2 separate regions of the Homo sapiens genome follow, and region 2 is linked to region 1. Evidence: promoter capture Hi-C in 16 types of primary human blood cells and fetal thymus (Javierre and others, 2016). All regions are on one chromosome and are shown on one strand. Each heading gives the region's core, a stretch centred on a gene start or on the middle of the fragment in contact. The rest is flanking DNA. Distances are from core to core; before and after follow the strand shown.

The links. The method cuts DNA at HindIII sites, captures the fragments that hold promoters and counts their contacts. A CHiCAGO score of 5 or more calls a contact.
Region 2: a fragment that was not itself captured here is called in contact with the fragment with the promoter of PDZK1IP1 in region 1 in 1 of 17 cell types (naive CD8 T cells); the score reaches 5.8 in naive CD8 T cells.

What each region holds. Positions count from the first base shown.
Region 1 is chr1:47,187,052-47,194,997 of GRCh38, reverse strand. It overlaps PDZK1IP1 (PDZK1 interacting protein 1), which reads left to right and starts at 4,962. Exons shown (of 4, transcript NM_005764.4): 1 at 4,962-5,132; 2 at 7,571-7,679. The coding sequence starts at 5,066. RefSeq lists an enhancer at 2,608-3,557 and a silencer at 4,387-4,681. The HindIII fragment of the contact is 10,710 bases long and covers 2,365-7,946 here.
Region 2 is chr1:47,690,809-47,698,754 of GRCh38, reverse strand. It overlaps LINC01738 (long intergenic non-protein coding RNA 1738), which reads right to left. Exons shown (of 3, transcript XR_001738040.3): 2 at 4,521-4,560. It overlaps LOC124904174 (a long non-coding RNA gene), which reads left to right and starts at 4,327. Exons shown (of 2, transcript XR_007066067.1): 1 at 4,327-4,667; 2 at 7,659-7,946. The HindIII fragment of the contact is 293 bases long and covers 2,610-2,902 here.

The DNA.
Region 1 (7,946 bases), core at 3,713-6,212:
GAAGAAAACAAAAAAAAACAAAAAAATCCTTAAACCCCAAGGTGGTGATATTGAGGGCTGGGACCTCTTGGAAAGGGGTTAAGTCAGGAGGGCTTCACCCCCGTGAATGGATTAGTGTTCTCAAAAACGGGGTTGAAGGGAGTGTCCTTGCCCCTTTCACCTTTCCATCCCTCCCACCGTGTAAGGGCACAGCAAGATGTGTCATCTTGGAAGCAGAGGGCAGCTCTCACCAGATGCCAAGCCTGCTAGTGCCCTGATCTGGGACTTCCCAGCCTCCAGAACTGTCAGAAAGTAAATTTCTGTTCTTTATAAATTACCCAGTCTAGGGTATTTTTATTAAAGTGGTACAAAGAGACTAAGACAAACCCCTTTTGCAGACACCTCATTGGGTGACCTGGTCCATGGCCTCTGCTCTTACATGTCTAGGGAAGGAGAGCTCACCCTCCAGGACACCCTCATATCAGGCTGAACAGCTCTAACTGTCAGAGGAATGGTTGCCTTGTCTTCTCCTTCACATACAGAGATGAATCAGACACAGTCCTTGCCCCACAGATAGAGAGTGGAGAGAGACAAGGACTCAACTACAGCTAAAATGTTTTATTCATTGAACAACCTTTCTCTGAGCTTCTGCTCTTTGTTAGGCCAGTGGTAGGCACTGCATATACTGACATTTAATTTCATAAAATGTGTGTCGAGTGTGTACTCAGGCACTGTGCTCAGTACTGGCTGCTGAGGGAGAGATAGACATGATACCTTCCCTCCATGGAGACAGTTATTAAATGAGTAAACATACAAATCAGTGTGTAATTGCAACTTGTGATCATGGCTGTGAGGAGATGAGCAAAGGAGACTCATAGAAGGGAGTGACTTCAGATGGGAGAGAAGGGAAGTAAAGAAGTATTCTTGAAGAAAGGGATGTAAAGGAAGATCAGTTTGCTGGGCAAATAGGAGTGGAAGAGTGTTCCAGGCAGAGAAAAGAGCAAGTGGAGAGAAGTCTCTGATGTGGGAAAGAGCTTGGCTTTTGTTAGGAAGTGACAGGAGGCTCCGGGGCCAGACCAAGCTGGAGTGGTGGGTAAGGAAGATTGCCTGTGCCCTCAAACCCATGCAAAGAAGTTTGCATATTATTTTAAGGGCTGATGAATGCCATAAAAGGGTTTAAGCAAGATACGTTTGAAAGAATAAAACAAGGTCTCCAGGAGCTCTCTGGCTTACAGCAATGATATTAACAAGATGAAGTATTATAAGAATTAGTAAAGAGCTGGGCGCGGTGGCTCACGCCTGTTATCCCAGCACTTTGGGAGGCCGAGGCGGGCTGATCACTTCAGGTCAGGAGTTTGAGGCCACCCTGGCCAACATAGTGAAACCTCGTCTCTACTGAAAATACAAAAATTAGCTTGGTGTGGTGGTGGGCGCCTGTGATCCCAGCTACTCAGGAGGCTGAGGCAAGAGAATCGCTTGAACCCAGGAGGCGGAGGTTGCAGTGAGCCAAGATTGAACCACTGCACTCCAGCCTGGGTGACAGAGAGAGACACTGAGAGGGAAAAAAAGAAAGCTTTTATATTTGTGTTCTAAACACCCTTCTTGAATGTTCTCTGTACTTTTTCTCAGGCTAAGCTCTTTGCCTGGATTCCTCTCCCCAGACTGTCTGCCGAGTACAACACTCTGGCTAACTTTGCCTGCATTACCTCCTCCAGGATGCCTTCCTTAGCAATGTAGTCCACCACGCTGCCCTATGTCAGAGCCCTGAGCACTCCCTGTATGCTGTTCCCAGACTATTTACATGTCAATGTCCACCGTCCCTTTCTTCAGACCACCCCTGGAGGAGGGCAAAAGTGGGGGCTGGAGGGAGGGGAAGTTGCAGAATCTTCAGCAGCAAACTGGCTCCCTGCACGCCCAGTCTGGTATTGGAGCTAGACACTGCCACCTGCTGGCAGTGAGTGGAATGGCTGACAAGATGGGGTTGGGAGGAAGGAGACTGCTGGAAACAGTCCAGGCCCACTTTGGCTTTTCTGAAGGGCAATCGCATAAGGTCTGGCTGGATGGAGGGCTTGTCTAAGGGGCCTGATGGTTTTGCGTGACAGCTGGGCTGGAACAGGAAGGAGGAACTGAACGTCGATGGAACAGCTGCTCAGGACACACGGTGCAGCCCTGTGGGGCTGCTGAGACCTTAGTCCAGACCCTGGGCCCCAGCCAGACCAGTAGGGGGGCCCACCTTGTTACCATGGGGATCAGGGCTGTGTCCATACAGCTGGGGAGATGACCCTCCACCCGTGTGAAGACCTCCAGGGAGGAGGGACCAGCCTCAAAGCCAAGTGTCCACCCATGCTCCCTCTTTTCTGGAACAACTTGTTTTGCTCTAAAGCTTGGGACTTTGACCCAGGAGGTATGTTTTCCTCCTGTTGATCACCTGGTGTCCTTCCTGTTCATCCCCTTCCCCCACCACTCCCAAAGCATAGCCCAGGGGATCCTTTCCTTTCCCTGGGTTTTTCAGGGAAGTGGAGGATACTGGGGTGGGGAAGGCAGAACCTGGGACTTGAGTGCTGAGGGCACTGGTTGGAGGGGGTGGCACAGCTGTGACCCCCCCACCCTCCTTAAGTCTGTCCTTGCTTGGCTCCTGGGATACCCCACTTTCCTGGGGTTGCTTCCTCCTGTTTCCTCCTGCCCCTTCTTCCTTTGAAAGACCTTTGTGTGTTGGGGGCGTGTCTCCTTCTTTCTGTGCTCTCCCCTCAACACCCCTACCCCCGCTACACACACTGGGGAGACCATGAGCTCCCAGGCCTCAGTTACCATCCCTGTGCTGCAGACGGCTCCCAGATGTTCCACTCCAGATGCAGGGATTTTGCAGCCTTCCAGATGTCTCCCTCTGGAAAGTCCACAGGCACTGCAAGCATAATACCTCAAAATCTATAGCTCATTAATCCTCCAACCCCCCAAACTTGCTCTGGCCCCTACTGAGGCACTAGCATCTACCCAGCTGCCTACGCCAGAAACCTGGGAGTCACCTGAAGCCCTGCCTCCTGCCTGTACCCATTCTCCCAGCTTGGCACTGTGTTCCAGCAGCCACACCCCGGCTTCTCTACCTCCTCAACAGGGCTCAGATCTGTTCCCATGGGCACTTCCTGCCCAGGTCCAGGCACTGGTGTTGTGGCCACTGTAGCAGATCCCTGGATTTCTCTTCTCCAGCCTTTGCATGCCCCTTTCACTCTCCACACTGCATGGAGAGGTGTTTTCCCAAACGCAAAACTAACCATGTGACTCTCCTCCCTAAAATTCTTGGAGAAGGCACCAGTAGATGTTTGTTAAATTCAGCCCCATTCCTTACATTCCAATCAGTGATTCTCTGGCTGTTCATTAACATGCACAGTGCTTACTCCAGTCTGTGTTAGAAGATTCTGAGGACACCAAGTTGGGTGTGGGAGGGAGGCCAGGATATACATGTTTGGGAGGCATCACTCAACTCCAAGCAAAGTTCTCCCAGATCACCTTGAGACACTCCATCTTTGGATGGCAATGGGCCCGACTGCACACGCATGTGAACACACACACACACACCCACACACACCACACACACACACACACACACACACACACACACACACACACACACACACAGGAAGCAGGCCTGAGGCATGATGTCTGAGTGCTCCCGCTGGAGCAGGAAGGCAGAATCAACCTGCCATAGGAAGGGTTGCCCAGGAGGCCTGATGAATAGGAGTTTGGTGGCTTCAGGGAAGAGAGGCTGTGGAGGTGCCTTCAGCTCAGGTGCTGGCTCCTGGGGACCTTCCATCTCTGATGAGACTTTGTTCCAGTTGGCCCGCTCCTTTCTAGGGAGTCAGCATCTCAGCTTCCCATACTTCTGGGGTGGGGGGTGGGGCAAGGAGACCAGCATGACCCTTGGTCAGGGGCTTGCACAGGAACTCTGGCCATTCTCATTCCCTGAGCTGGAGGGCCAGGTGGACACCACGTGATCCTGGGGAGGCTTTTGCCTCTTCCGAGGGCTCTGGCTCCAGGGCCTCCCTGTTCCAGGGGCTAGGTGTGCCTTCCTCAATGCTGCTTTTGGCTATGAGGGTGACGGGCCCAGGGCTTCAGGGCCCCAGATCGCACCTTGCCATCTGGGGTGTCCGTCCTTTGTCCCCCACAGCAGGCTGTGTTTGCCCATTTTCTCCTCTGCCATGGGTGGAGATGGATCTGAAGTTGGGTGTTGAAGCCTCTGACCAAGGCTGTATCTTGTTTTGAGGCCCTGCCCGGTTTCCAGGGACCACATCTGGGGCCAAGAGGAAGAACCGAACTGGGACTAGGTTAGCTGTGCTGGGTCAGGGCCTGGGCATGGGCTGTGAAAGCTGGGGACTGGGACCTTCAGGCCCTCTATTGAGATCTTTGCAGAAGGGGGTGGATTTAGGAAGCTACTGGGCTGGGCCAGGGCGTGGAAGGCACTGAAGCCGTAGTGTGTCCCAGCATTAGAGTCCCAGAGTTTAGCTTGGCGGGGCAGGGGCAGGTGGTGGGGAGAACAGGAAATAGGCCAGGCTCTCGGCGGAGTCTGGCAGCTTTGAGCCTTCTCTGGGCTTCTGGGGTTTTCCCCAGGCTCCTGAGCCAGCCAGGACATTTCTTAATCCCACTGTCAGCCTTCCAAGAAGCCCCGCCCACTGGGCTCAGTCAAGGCAGGAGCGACTGTGTGTCACCCCTTTCCCTAGAATCCAGCCCCACTGCCAGGAAAAGGGAGCTCAGGGCATGGAGGTGAGGCTGGGACTCTCCCACATCTGCTTGTTCCTCATACCCACCTCCTTAGCTGGCCCCTGGAAGATGACCTCGAATGCCAGCCCAAGTGAGCTGGGCACCAGCCAGGGGAGGCCAGGTCTGGCAGCTCATTACCATGGGAGGGAGGGCACGTTCTCTCCGACGCCCGTCTTCGTGTCTCCTCCCTCCCTCGCCTTCCTCCTTCCTAGCTCCTCTCCTCCAGGGCCAGACTGAGCCCAGGTTGATTTCAGGCGGACACCAATAGACTCCACAGCAGCTCCAGGAGCCCAGACACCGGCGGCCAGAAGCAAGGCTAGGAGCTGCTGCAGCCATGTCGGCCCTCAGCCTCCTCATTCTGGGCCTGCTCACGGCAGTGCCACCTGCCAGCTGTCAGCAAGGTAGCTCAGGAGGAGAGGGCTGGGCACGGGAGACCCAGGGGTGGACAGGTGGTGTTCTGGCTCCCCTCCCCAGGGCCTTGATACTTACAGTTTGGAGGGGGAGCAGGGACTGCGCTAGCTGAAAGAATGTCCCAAGGCAGAGACCTCTGAACCAAGTCTCTGCCTGTCACTTGTTTTCAACGAGTGAAAACTGGCAGCAGTTGGTTCTAGGATCTCAGGGAGGAACAGGATTTGAGGCCCAAGCCCCAAGAGCAGGCATTGCCCAAGGGATGGCTGGGTCCTGAGTACAGGGGACCCGGGGGTACAAGTAGGGTGAGAGTGGGGCCCAAGCCACCCCTCAAAGACTTGGGCTTTGTCTCGGCCTCTTGGGCTTGGATAGAGAACAGTGCCCAGTGTGACTCCCCCAAATATCTGACCTCTTCGTCCTGCTCTGCCTGAATGGATGTGTGACCTTGAGCAAATCACTGCCCCTTCCTGAGACTCAGTTTTCTCACCTATAAAATGAGAACAATAAACCCCACCCTGCCCACCTCCCAGGGCTGCTGCCAGGTCAGAGGTGAAGAAGGGCTTTGCACCTGGTGAAGTAACTAACCCAAGGTCTGGCTTTCATTCTACACTGTCAGGCTGCATCTGCAGCCAAAGTCTGGGGACTCTGCAGGTGGGACTTGGTCCAGAGGGGACTGGCAAAGATGCTTTCAGAGCTCCCCTCCCACCCCCACCCCGAGCTCTTATGTGTGTCTGCTTCAACTCTGTCTCCCAGGTCTTGGAAGCCCTCTGGGGAACTGCAGACCAGAGAGGTTGAGTCACAGAGCACGGCAAGAAAGGACAGGGTTCAGACCACCTTTCTCCTGCCCCAGACACTGCCCCTTGCTGTATGTGCATGGGAGGAGGAGCAGGGACTGTGGTCCCTGGGGTGACTGGAGAGAATTGGCTGCAGGGTCTAGGAGGAAACAGGGAGGGGCCTCCAAGGGTTGAGCCCTAACTCCCCATGCTTGAGCAACCACTGACCTGAGGGAGCAGTCTGAACCCCTAGGGAAACAATGACTCCCAAATACTGCTTTTTGGCAGGTGTGGAACTGAGGGTAATCACACTGTGTGTCTTCTGCTTCCCCTGGAGATAAGTGAGGTCTGACCTCACTACAGGCCAGAGAGTTCCTAGCCTCCTTCCTCCTTCCCAATATTTGCCAGGCTCGGAGAAGAGGTCAGGCCTCCACTGCAGCAGGAGAGCTTTTGGTAGACTCAAAGGAGGACATTTGAGCAGGAGTGAGCCAGAGGAAGGTTTTCTCATGTCCAGCTTGGGTCCCTCAAAATATAGGGATGCAGGTATATTCTGGCCTGGAGGCAGGACCCCTCTGAAGCCCCCTGCTGACCTGTGTTTTGTCCTGGGACTTCTCCCCGCTGAGGGTCTTTTCTCTACAAGGCTGAGCTCCTGCAGGCTCATGGAGTGCAGTGATGCTGGGGAAGAGGAAAGTCCTTTGGGGAAGCAGAGGCCTGAAGGCAGGGACTTCAGGAAAATCTTGAGGGACTGTGTTGGTGTCAAGGGTCAAAAAGCAGAGAAGGGACCTGGTGCAGTAGCTCATGCCTGTAATCCCAGCACTTTGGGAGGCCAAGGCCAGAGGCTCGCCTGAGCCCAGGAGTTTGAGACCAGCCTGGGCAACGTAGTAAGACCCTGTCTCTATTAAAAAATAAAAAAAGTAGAGAAGGGTGCAGGTTGGGGCCTCAACCTAATCTCTGGCCCTAGTCCCTGGGCACCCAGCTGGGGGAATCAAAAGGAGCTCAGGTTTTGAGGCTTCTTTCCTGGTCCCCAAGACCCAGAGTAGAGTTCACCCCTCCATTCTGCCCTTCTAAAGATGTCCTGGTCCACTCCTCTCTCTGGGTACCCCAGGCACCCCAGATCTCCCCAGCTGAGCAGCCCTGAGAGTCTCCCACTCTCATACCCTTCCTACCATCAGAGAAACGTCTTGCTACAGAACAGGATCTTCTAGATCCCAGACCAGTCTTGTCAGCTGTGGGTCCTCCTCAGCCTTCTGGGAGCCACTCCCAGCTGCAAGGCCTAGGCCGGCTGTCCAGGGGGCTGCCCTTTGGTCCCTGGGGCTGCATGTGACCCACCTGCGGGAGGGAAAGAGGCTCTGGGCTGCCTAGATACAGCACTGAGGCTCTTCCCTCCTTGGCTTCTCACTCCTTCCAACTCCCTTCTCTCTGAGCCTCTGTTGTTCCTCCAGCTCCCTCCTTTTCCTAAGCTCGGTGGAGCTTAAGATGCATAAGTGGGTCAGATGGGCTGTATCCCACCCCTGCCTCCCCACAATGTCTCCTTGCTCCTGGCAGCTGGCTGAGGGCCTTCAGCATAGGTGGGGTCCTTGAAGAGTGAGGCCCCTCGCTCTCCTGCACATGCAGCCCCACTGTGGCCCCGTCTGCTACAGCCCCTCTCCCTTTGTTAGGCCTGGGGAACCTTCAGCCCTGGATGCAGGGCCTTATCGCGGTGGCCGTGTTCCTGGTCCTCGTTGCAATCGCCTTTGCAGTCAACCACTTCTGGTGCCAGGAGGAGCCGTGAGTGCTGCCCAAGGGTCCCTGAGCAGGCAGGGTGGGCCCAGGACCACTGCTCTTGCTCTAGTAGCAGTGAGAAGGGCCTCAGAAACCCTGTGTCCAATCCTCCCCCTGAGGCTCAAGGGAAGGGAAACTGAGGCTCAAGGTCATGGGGTGGGTTGGTGACAGTCGGGATGAGGGAATGAGAGCCTAGGCTTGCTGGCTCCCAGACCTGGGCACTGTGGGCCCCACAGCTCTGGTGCCCACTCCCTGTGAGTTTTGGGGAAACGG
Region 2 (7,946 bases), core at 1,507-4,006, 510 kb before region 1:
TTACAGATGAGGAAGCTCAAGTCCAGAGAGGTTAAAGTGACTTTTGTGAATGTCACACCTCTGCTACAGTGCTCTAATAAGCCCACTGCACCAAACTTCCAAATTGGTAAGATCATGGCATCCTTTTTCAGTGAAGAGTGTGTCCCGGATGCAAATAGCCATTAAGTGGTTCATATGGTTCTGTGGTTGAGATGGGCCCTAAGAAGCTGTGATCTTTCCTCCCATCTCATGGTAACCTAGGGGTTAGAGGTAAGGCTACAGTCTGCAACTGAGGTCTGGACTCAGCCCAGGCAAGAACCAGAGACCCGGTCTCCTGGCCCCAGCCCAGTGTTATTTCCACTCTGACACTGACCTAGGGCAAGGCCCTCCCAGTTTTTTCAGCCTCCCTATCTGTAGTGAGAGGGTGTGGGAGAGAAAGCCTCTAGGGCCCCTTCCAGGGTCCAGGCTGTAGCTGTGATCAGTTCTGAGCTCAGGATGTGAAGGTGAAGAATGAGAGCAGGAAGTTCCAGGCTCCAGGGGGTGGGGCAGGCCCCACCAGGGGAGGCAGAGGGCACAGAAGCCACCCCTGACCGACTTCACAAGATAAGGCCCACCCTCACCTCCCCACTTCCTCCTCTCCAGCCCCAGGGTCTCCTTTGCTTCCACATCTTGTTGACTTTTGAATTTACAAGGTGTGCCAGTTGCCAAGGCCCCTGGTTGATTACACCCCCGGACCTGCCTTAGGAAAGCATCCTCCTCTCCAAGCCCCCACCAGCAACTGGGAGGTGAGGCTGGGAACGCAAGATGGGATCTCTCAGGTGCTGGAAAGAAATTAAAGAGGAAACTTATCAAAAAGAGGATGGAAGAGAGAAAGCAAAGGTAAGTTCCATTCTGGAAAGGAAATGGGGAGGAGCCACGTGCAATTTTATAGCCATGTTCTGAAACTCATGACTCTTGACCAGGTCCGACTCTGACCGTGGGGGAAAGCTCAGGTGGGGTGAGGAGCTTTATGGTGTTTGCTTGGTTTATTGGCTTTGTGGAAGAGGATATGAGGGCCCAGGCAGTTCTCTGGAGATAGGACCCCTCAAGGAAAGGCCAAGATTTATGGTTTCCGGAAGCCCTCAAGGTTACTGGCCTAGGCCTAGGCTTTCCTTGGTTCTGGGGATTTAAGGGAGGGAGGGCCTGGAGGTAAAGGAAATTCCAAATCATGGTGAGAATCATTCCCCAAAAGACTTTATCTTCCATGGTCTCCCATGATTCCCAGTAACTACATGATGTTGACAGTCCGCCATCATTTTAACGAAATGGGGGCCTGAGGCTGGGAGAGCAGGCAGGCCGGCCCCTGGTCAGCTAGAATCAGTGTCAGGGGAGCAACTCAAACCCATCTTTCCTGGTTCCCACTCCAGGGCGCTTTCTCACTGGGCTATTTATACTGGAGTGGCCTTTGACACCCAATCAGAAAATACCTGAGTCACACTGGCTAAAAGAAAAGAAGTATTGCTAAGGGCTCTGGCCTAGAGTCACCTCTGTGTCACCACATGCAGGCCTGGGACAATAGCCATCCATCACTGCTCAGCAAGGTAGTGTAGGTGTCCCCTTGCACAAGCATGTGACTACACAAAGGGTGCTTGACCTTCCAGGAAATGCTACTGTGGACACTGTCCCTGGCCAAGTGGCTCTGGAAACAAATGTTTCATTGACAAACCTACTTCACAGGCATAAGAGGCTGGTTCCTGACATGGCCTTCCAGTCTTCTGTGGACCCTGTTAGCAGGATAAATTTTATTTCTGAGCTTAATTAGGGGACATGCCATAAATATTCATGCAGCAAAATGAGCCCTGGCTCACAAGTGCAGCTGCTTCCCGCTTGGGGGAAATTAACATTGTTTTCCAACCATGAGTAATGAGGCGCCACTGCTGGAGAGAGGAGCCTTTTCAACAGCCTCTTTAGGACAGAAAGGGAGAGCCACACTCAGAGGCACCCGCACCCTGGGAGCCAGCCTGGCCCCCGCAGACCCCTCTGCATCTCCAAATGAGGGGCACAGCTGGGCTCCTCTGGGGCTCAGTCCTGAAGGGAGCCCCCACCAAGGCGCTCAGCAGAGCAGACAATGCATCAAGAACAGGGATCAGCAAACTATAACACAAGGGCCAAATCCACCTGCCACCTGCTTTTGTAAATAAAGTTTTATTGGAACCCATTTGTTTAGATATGGCTACAACAGCAGAGTTGAGTAATGTGACAAGAGACCTTATGGCCTGCCAAGCCAAAGGAAAATATTTACAACCTGGTCCTTTGCAGAAAAAGTATGCCCTAGAACTGTTTCATCCTGGACATTTGCAATTATTAATATAAGTCCCATAATCTCAAATTCTCTGTAACCTTAGGAATATGGAATGGTTTTAAAGTCTCATGGTTTTAGAATCTTCGTGCATAGACTCTGGAACCAGACTTCAATCTCAGCTCTATCACTTCCTTAGCTGTGTGACCATGGGCAAGTTACTTAACCTTCTCTCTGCCTCAGTTTATTTATCTATAAACTGGGGGTAAGAATAGTACCTAGCTCATAGTGTTGTGAAGACTCAATGAATATTTATAAAGCCCATATAAAAGTATTCAGCATAGGATAAGCTTTAAATAAGTACCTGTTAAATAAATGGATTCAATTTCCTATAATTCCAGATCCTCAAAGAATAGGATCTTAACCTTCCCCTACAAATTTCAGCCTGTAAGATCTTAGAATCTAAGCTGTGACAGGGAGAGCCCCCAAGTTTCTGACACTGTACTAAATACCTTATGTGCATTATCTCATTTAATCTCCAAAACAACTCTTGGAAGTAGGAATTACAGGCAATTTACATATAAGGAAACAAACTTTGCAAAGGTAGGAGACTAATCCAAGGTCACAGGGGTAAATTGCAAAGCTTGAACAGGAGGAGCCCAGGGTACCTGACTCCAAGCCTATCTCTCAGATAATCCTACCCCTCACCCACTGCCACAGTCTCTCCTCAGTACCTGTCACAGGGTCCTCCAGCCTCTGCTGGGCACCTGCCGTGTCAGGGAGCTCACTGCCACTGGAGACAGCCAGCTCTGTGGCTGGAGAGCTCACACTGGGATCTGCTCTTACTTTCGCTCCTTCTAACCCCCTTGGTCCTAGTTTGTCTCTTTGCAGCTCTGAAAAGCCCAGGCAAGAGACCACAGACACTTCTGGGGACATCTCCCAACTTGCTGGGAGCCAGCAGCAGCCTAGGCCTCAAGCATTTGCAACAAACTAGACCCATGAAAAGACAGAGCTCCATAGCTTTGGACAAACCATGCCTCCAGCAAGCCCTCCCTGGTACCAACAAGAAGCAGGGACCCTTCTTTCTCCTTAAGACTCCCAACATTCCTGCCTGAACCATCACTCGATGAGACAAGAGCCATGTCCTCATCTAAGTCTTGTCATAATACTCCTAGGACTCTCTAAGCCTTGTAATCTTTCTTCTTGCTGTCAAAGTGTTTTGAGATCTAGTCTCTCCTATGGTTCTGCAGCATAATGAAGCTCATCAAGTGCTGGTAGCATTGCGTTTATCCTCAGCATTCTTGACCTAGTAGGTCAAGAAAGTATTACCATTCCCATTTATAAGATGATGTCCCCGAGACCCAGAGGGGAGGAGGAACAGAAAGAAAAAAGAAATTATACTATAACAGAACCTTCTGGTACCAGGCCCTGTGCTAAGCCCTTTGTCTCATTTCATCCTGACACACGTAGATGCTACCCCACTTTCCGGGAAAGTGAACTGTGGCTCCTAAAGGAAATCCGACCTGTTCTAGGTTCCATAGACAGCAGGAGGAGGAAGACATTGATCATGCATCTACTGTGTGCTAAGTATGTTCATACACATATATGCCTTATTCTGCCATCACACACACACAAAACCCTAAGGTGGGTTTTTTTTAATGCCTGCTTGCCAGATGTGTAAACTAAGGCTCAGAGGCTGGGGTGGCTGTCCCAGGGGAGTGGGGCTGGGCCCCAGGCCTCATTGGTGTGGATGAAGCACTCTTGCCCGACCCCAGCAGCCATGGCAAGACTCAGCCCATATCCTTTCAGGGAGTGGCAAAGGAAACACTGGGCCCTTTTACAGGGTTTCCATGTGCATGACCGGGAGCCCCTAAGGATGGCCGATCTGCCACGGATGGGAGGAACGGTTTATTTTTTCTGTGGGCCGCTCTGGAGCCTTTCAAAGGTGTGAAGTTCCATGGCCTGCAAAAGCTGATTCTACTGGCTATCCAAAGCAGACCTGCCTGGGCCCCAGCCCCTGCAGCCCCCACAGTCCCCACAGCCCCCCACAGCCCCCGCAGACCCCGGCCTCTTCATATGCCGCCCATGGGAACTCCCTCTGGCCCACCTGGCCTCTCACACGCTGAAAGGCTGCAGAGTGACAGGCCGGCAACTGGACTCTGATGTTTATTCACCAAACACAGAGACGGCCCTCCAGGCCTCTGCTACCTCAGGGAAGAGGGGTCACCAGCCCACCCCCAGGCCAGGATCCCAGCACACTCACCTCTGGAGACTGGCCATGAGGAGGAGCATCCAAGCTGCTCCTGCAGCGAGAGAGACTCTGGTTAGACACAAGGAAGAACTAGCTGCCACTGAGGGACATTCAGCTCAGAGAGAGAAGCGGAATCTCCTGAAGTGCCATGGCATCTTGGTAAGGACCCTAGACTCTTTGTAACCCCTGGGATGAGGAGGGGTGAGGCTGCATGAATCCCAAGCCCCACTCTACCAGTTCTGACAATGTCGTAATTCTGAGGTTCCACGGCATGAGACAGGGGGTCAGACTGGACCACAGGATCATTTCTGAATGCTTCTACCTCCAGACCTGCCAAGTGATTGACCGGACAAGGCTGAGCTTGTGTTGGGGAACCGCTTGGTTGCTTCCCTGTACATAGTCAAGAAAGTTGCACGGTCACTTTGTAAAAACGGAACTGCTGGTATTGTTGTTTTTCTGTTGTTCCTTTCCCCGCTACCATTTTTATAACTGAACTGATTGCTTTGATTGGACTGGCCCGTTGCTCATCTAAACTGACCCGTTGCTGGACTCAACTGACAGGCTGTTTGTCGGCCACGGTCAGCTGTGGATGTGGAGCTGGTTGGTGTGTAGCTTTCCAGATTAGATATTTTGATGAAATGGACTGGTCCGAGCCCTGCAATCACCCCAGCCCCACTCCCCAACCTCACCACCAGCCTCGGCTTTTCCAGAGAATTGCAGTTCCATGAGTTTCAGGCATAAATCCCGGCCAAATCCACCATGAAAGGACACACAATATTGTCACAGGTTTAAAACTGGGATTCAAATCAAGAGGGCAGAAAGTCCCAATGGAGGACCCGTTGTGCCCTGCAGCCTTGCCAGGCAGTCCACGTGGGCTGGACCGAGGCTGCGGTTCTGTCCCTCATCCGTGTCGGGGGATTGCTGAGCCCCTAGCACAGCCCCCTCACTTGCCTCTTTAACTCACTTCCTTTCATTGCTGACAGGTCCACCAACTTTCAATGGGGCTGTGGCAAGAGGGTACTCACCCACCCACCCCCAAGCCCATTCACCCTGCCCACCCCTCCTTGGCCTTTCAGGCTCACAGTGAAAGGGACTTGTCCAGAAATCGGGGATTTACCATTGTGCCCTTTGTAAAGACTCTCCATTTTCCTCAGCCCCACCCCTCCCATCTCCAGAATCAGTAGGGGTGGCCCCTGCAGAGCTGCAGATGGATGCAACAGAGCACAACACACCCAACACCCTTGTTTAGAATCAGGGCTGAAGCCTCAGAAACTCAAACTTTGTTTCAGAGCCGGAAGACAACCTCTAGATTTCTCCGGCCTCCACCCGCTCCCCATTTTACAGATGGGGAAACTGAGAGTCATAGAATGAGGCCTCTTGACACCTAGTGTGCTATTCCATTAGCTCGTTTTCACTCCCCATTTCTTTTCTTACTTCTTTCAGAATTGAGGAGGTAATGACATTTGTCATTTGTGTTAACAATATGCCACACCACTGAAAACTGTGTACAATGGCTGCAGCCAACAGTCTAGGAAGTTTGGGGTCATGGTTTTGTTGTTTCACATCTGAAATCAAAACCCAGAGCCATGAAAATAGCAGATCTTGGTTGAACTGCCTCTAAAATAAATAGAAATACTCACCTAACTAATTTGAAATTCAACTCACGAAAAGGAATAAAGCCAAATTGTAATTTTTCTGTTTCTAATATTTTTGCTCCCACATTTAGATTATTTAATCCAACTACCTATCTGTGGGTGGGCCTGCTGGGGACCAGAAAGGAGCTCTAACTTGCCCAAAGGCACACAGCATGGCAGGCGGGTTTGGCCTGACTATCCTCTACCTCTCCGGCACGCATTTCGGTGTTGGAAAAATCTCGGCTACATCGAAATGGTATTCCTAGAACCAGTTGGGCACTGCAATTTGGTTAGCTGTGTGGCTTTGCAGTTTCTAAACTAAATGGTTTATTAAGAATAGATGTGTCAGGCCAGGCACAGTGGCTCATGCCTGTAATCTCAGCACTTTGGGAGGCCAAGGCAAGTGGATCACCTCAGGTTGGGAGTTTGAGACCAGCCTGACCAACATAGAGAAACCCTGTCTCTACTGAAAATACAAAATTAGCAGGGCATGGTGGTACATGCCTGTAATCCCAGCTACTCAGGAGGCTGAGGCAGGAGAATCACTTGAACCCAGGAGGCGGAGGTTGCAGTGAGCTGAGATCGCGCCACTGCACTCCAGCCTGGGCAACAAGAGCAAAACTCTGTCAAAAAAAAAAAAAAAAAAGAATAGATCTGTGAGATACTATCTTATGCCAGTTAGAATGGCGATCATTAAAAAGTCAGGAAACAACAGATGTTGGAGAGGATGTGGAGAAATAGGAATGCTTTTACACTGTTAGTGGGAGTGTAAATTAGTTCAACCACTGTGGAAGACAGTGTGGCGATTCCTCAAGGACCTAGAACCAGAAATACCATTTGACCCAGCAATACCATTTGATCCAGCAATCCCATTAGATCCAGCAATCCCATTACTGGGTATACACCCAAAGAATTAAAAATCATTCTACTATAAAGACACATGTACATGTATGTTTATTGCAGCACTATTCACAATAGCTAAGACTGGGAACCAACCCAAATGCCCATCAATGATAGACTGGATGACGAAAATGTGGCACATATACACCATGGAATACTATGCAGCCATAAAAAAGGATGAGTTCATGTCCTTTGCAGGGACATGGATGAAGCTGGGAACCATCATTCTCAGCAAACTAACACAGGAACAGAAAACCAAAGACCACATGTTCTCACTCATAAGTGGGAGTCGAACAATGAGAACACGTGGACATAGGGAGGGGACCATCACACACAAGGGCCTGTTGGGTGGAGGGGGTGGCTAGGGGAGGGAGAGCATTAGGATAAATACCTAATATAGATGACGGGTTGATGGGTGCAGCAAACCACCATGGCGCGTGTATTCCTATGTAACAAACCTGCACATTTTACACATGTATCCCAGAACTTAAAGTATAATAATAATAATAAAAGAATAGATGTGAAAGCAGCAAAAGCGGTTGATTTCAATGCTTCATCTATGGGAAGATTGCCACAATCTCTGAGCATTTCTAACCCAGGCTGCTCCCTCCCCTAGGAGGTGCTTTACGTGATCCTGGGGCTGGGAGATTCTGCATGGGAACTGAGCTGGAGAAAAGATCATTCAAGGAAGATAGCCTCGTCTTTTGGCGGTCACTGCACAGACTCTGTCTTTATAGTGCTTAAATAAAAAGCAGGAGGTTTCATATTTAAATTGTTTATCTTCGGCTAGTTCTTCTACAGAGCTTTGGGATGAATTCATTCCGAAGGCAATATTTTCTAAATTACCAGGCTGACTCTGAAGCCGACTTTGTTTTGCTTTTGGTTTATTCCTAAATGTAATAGA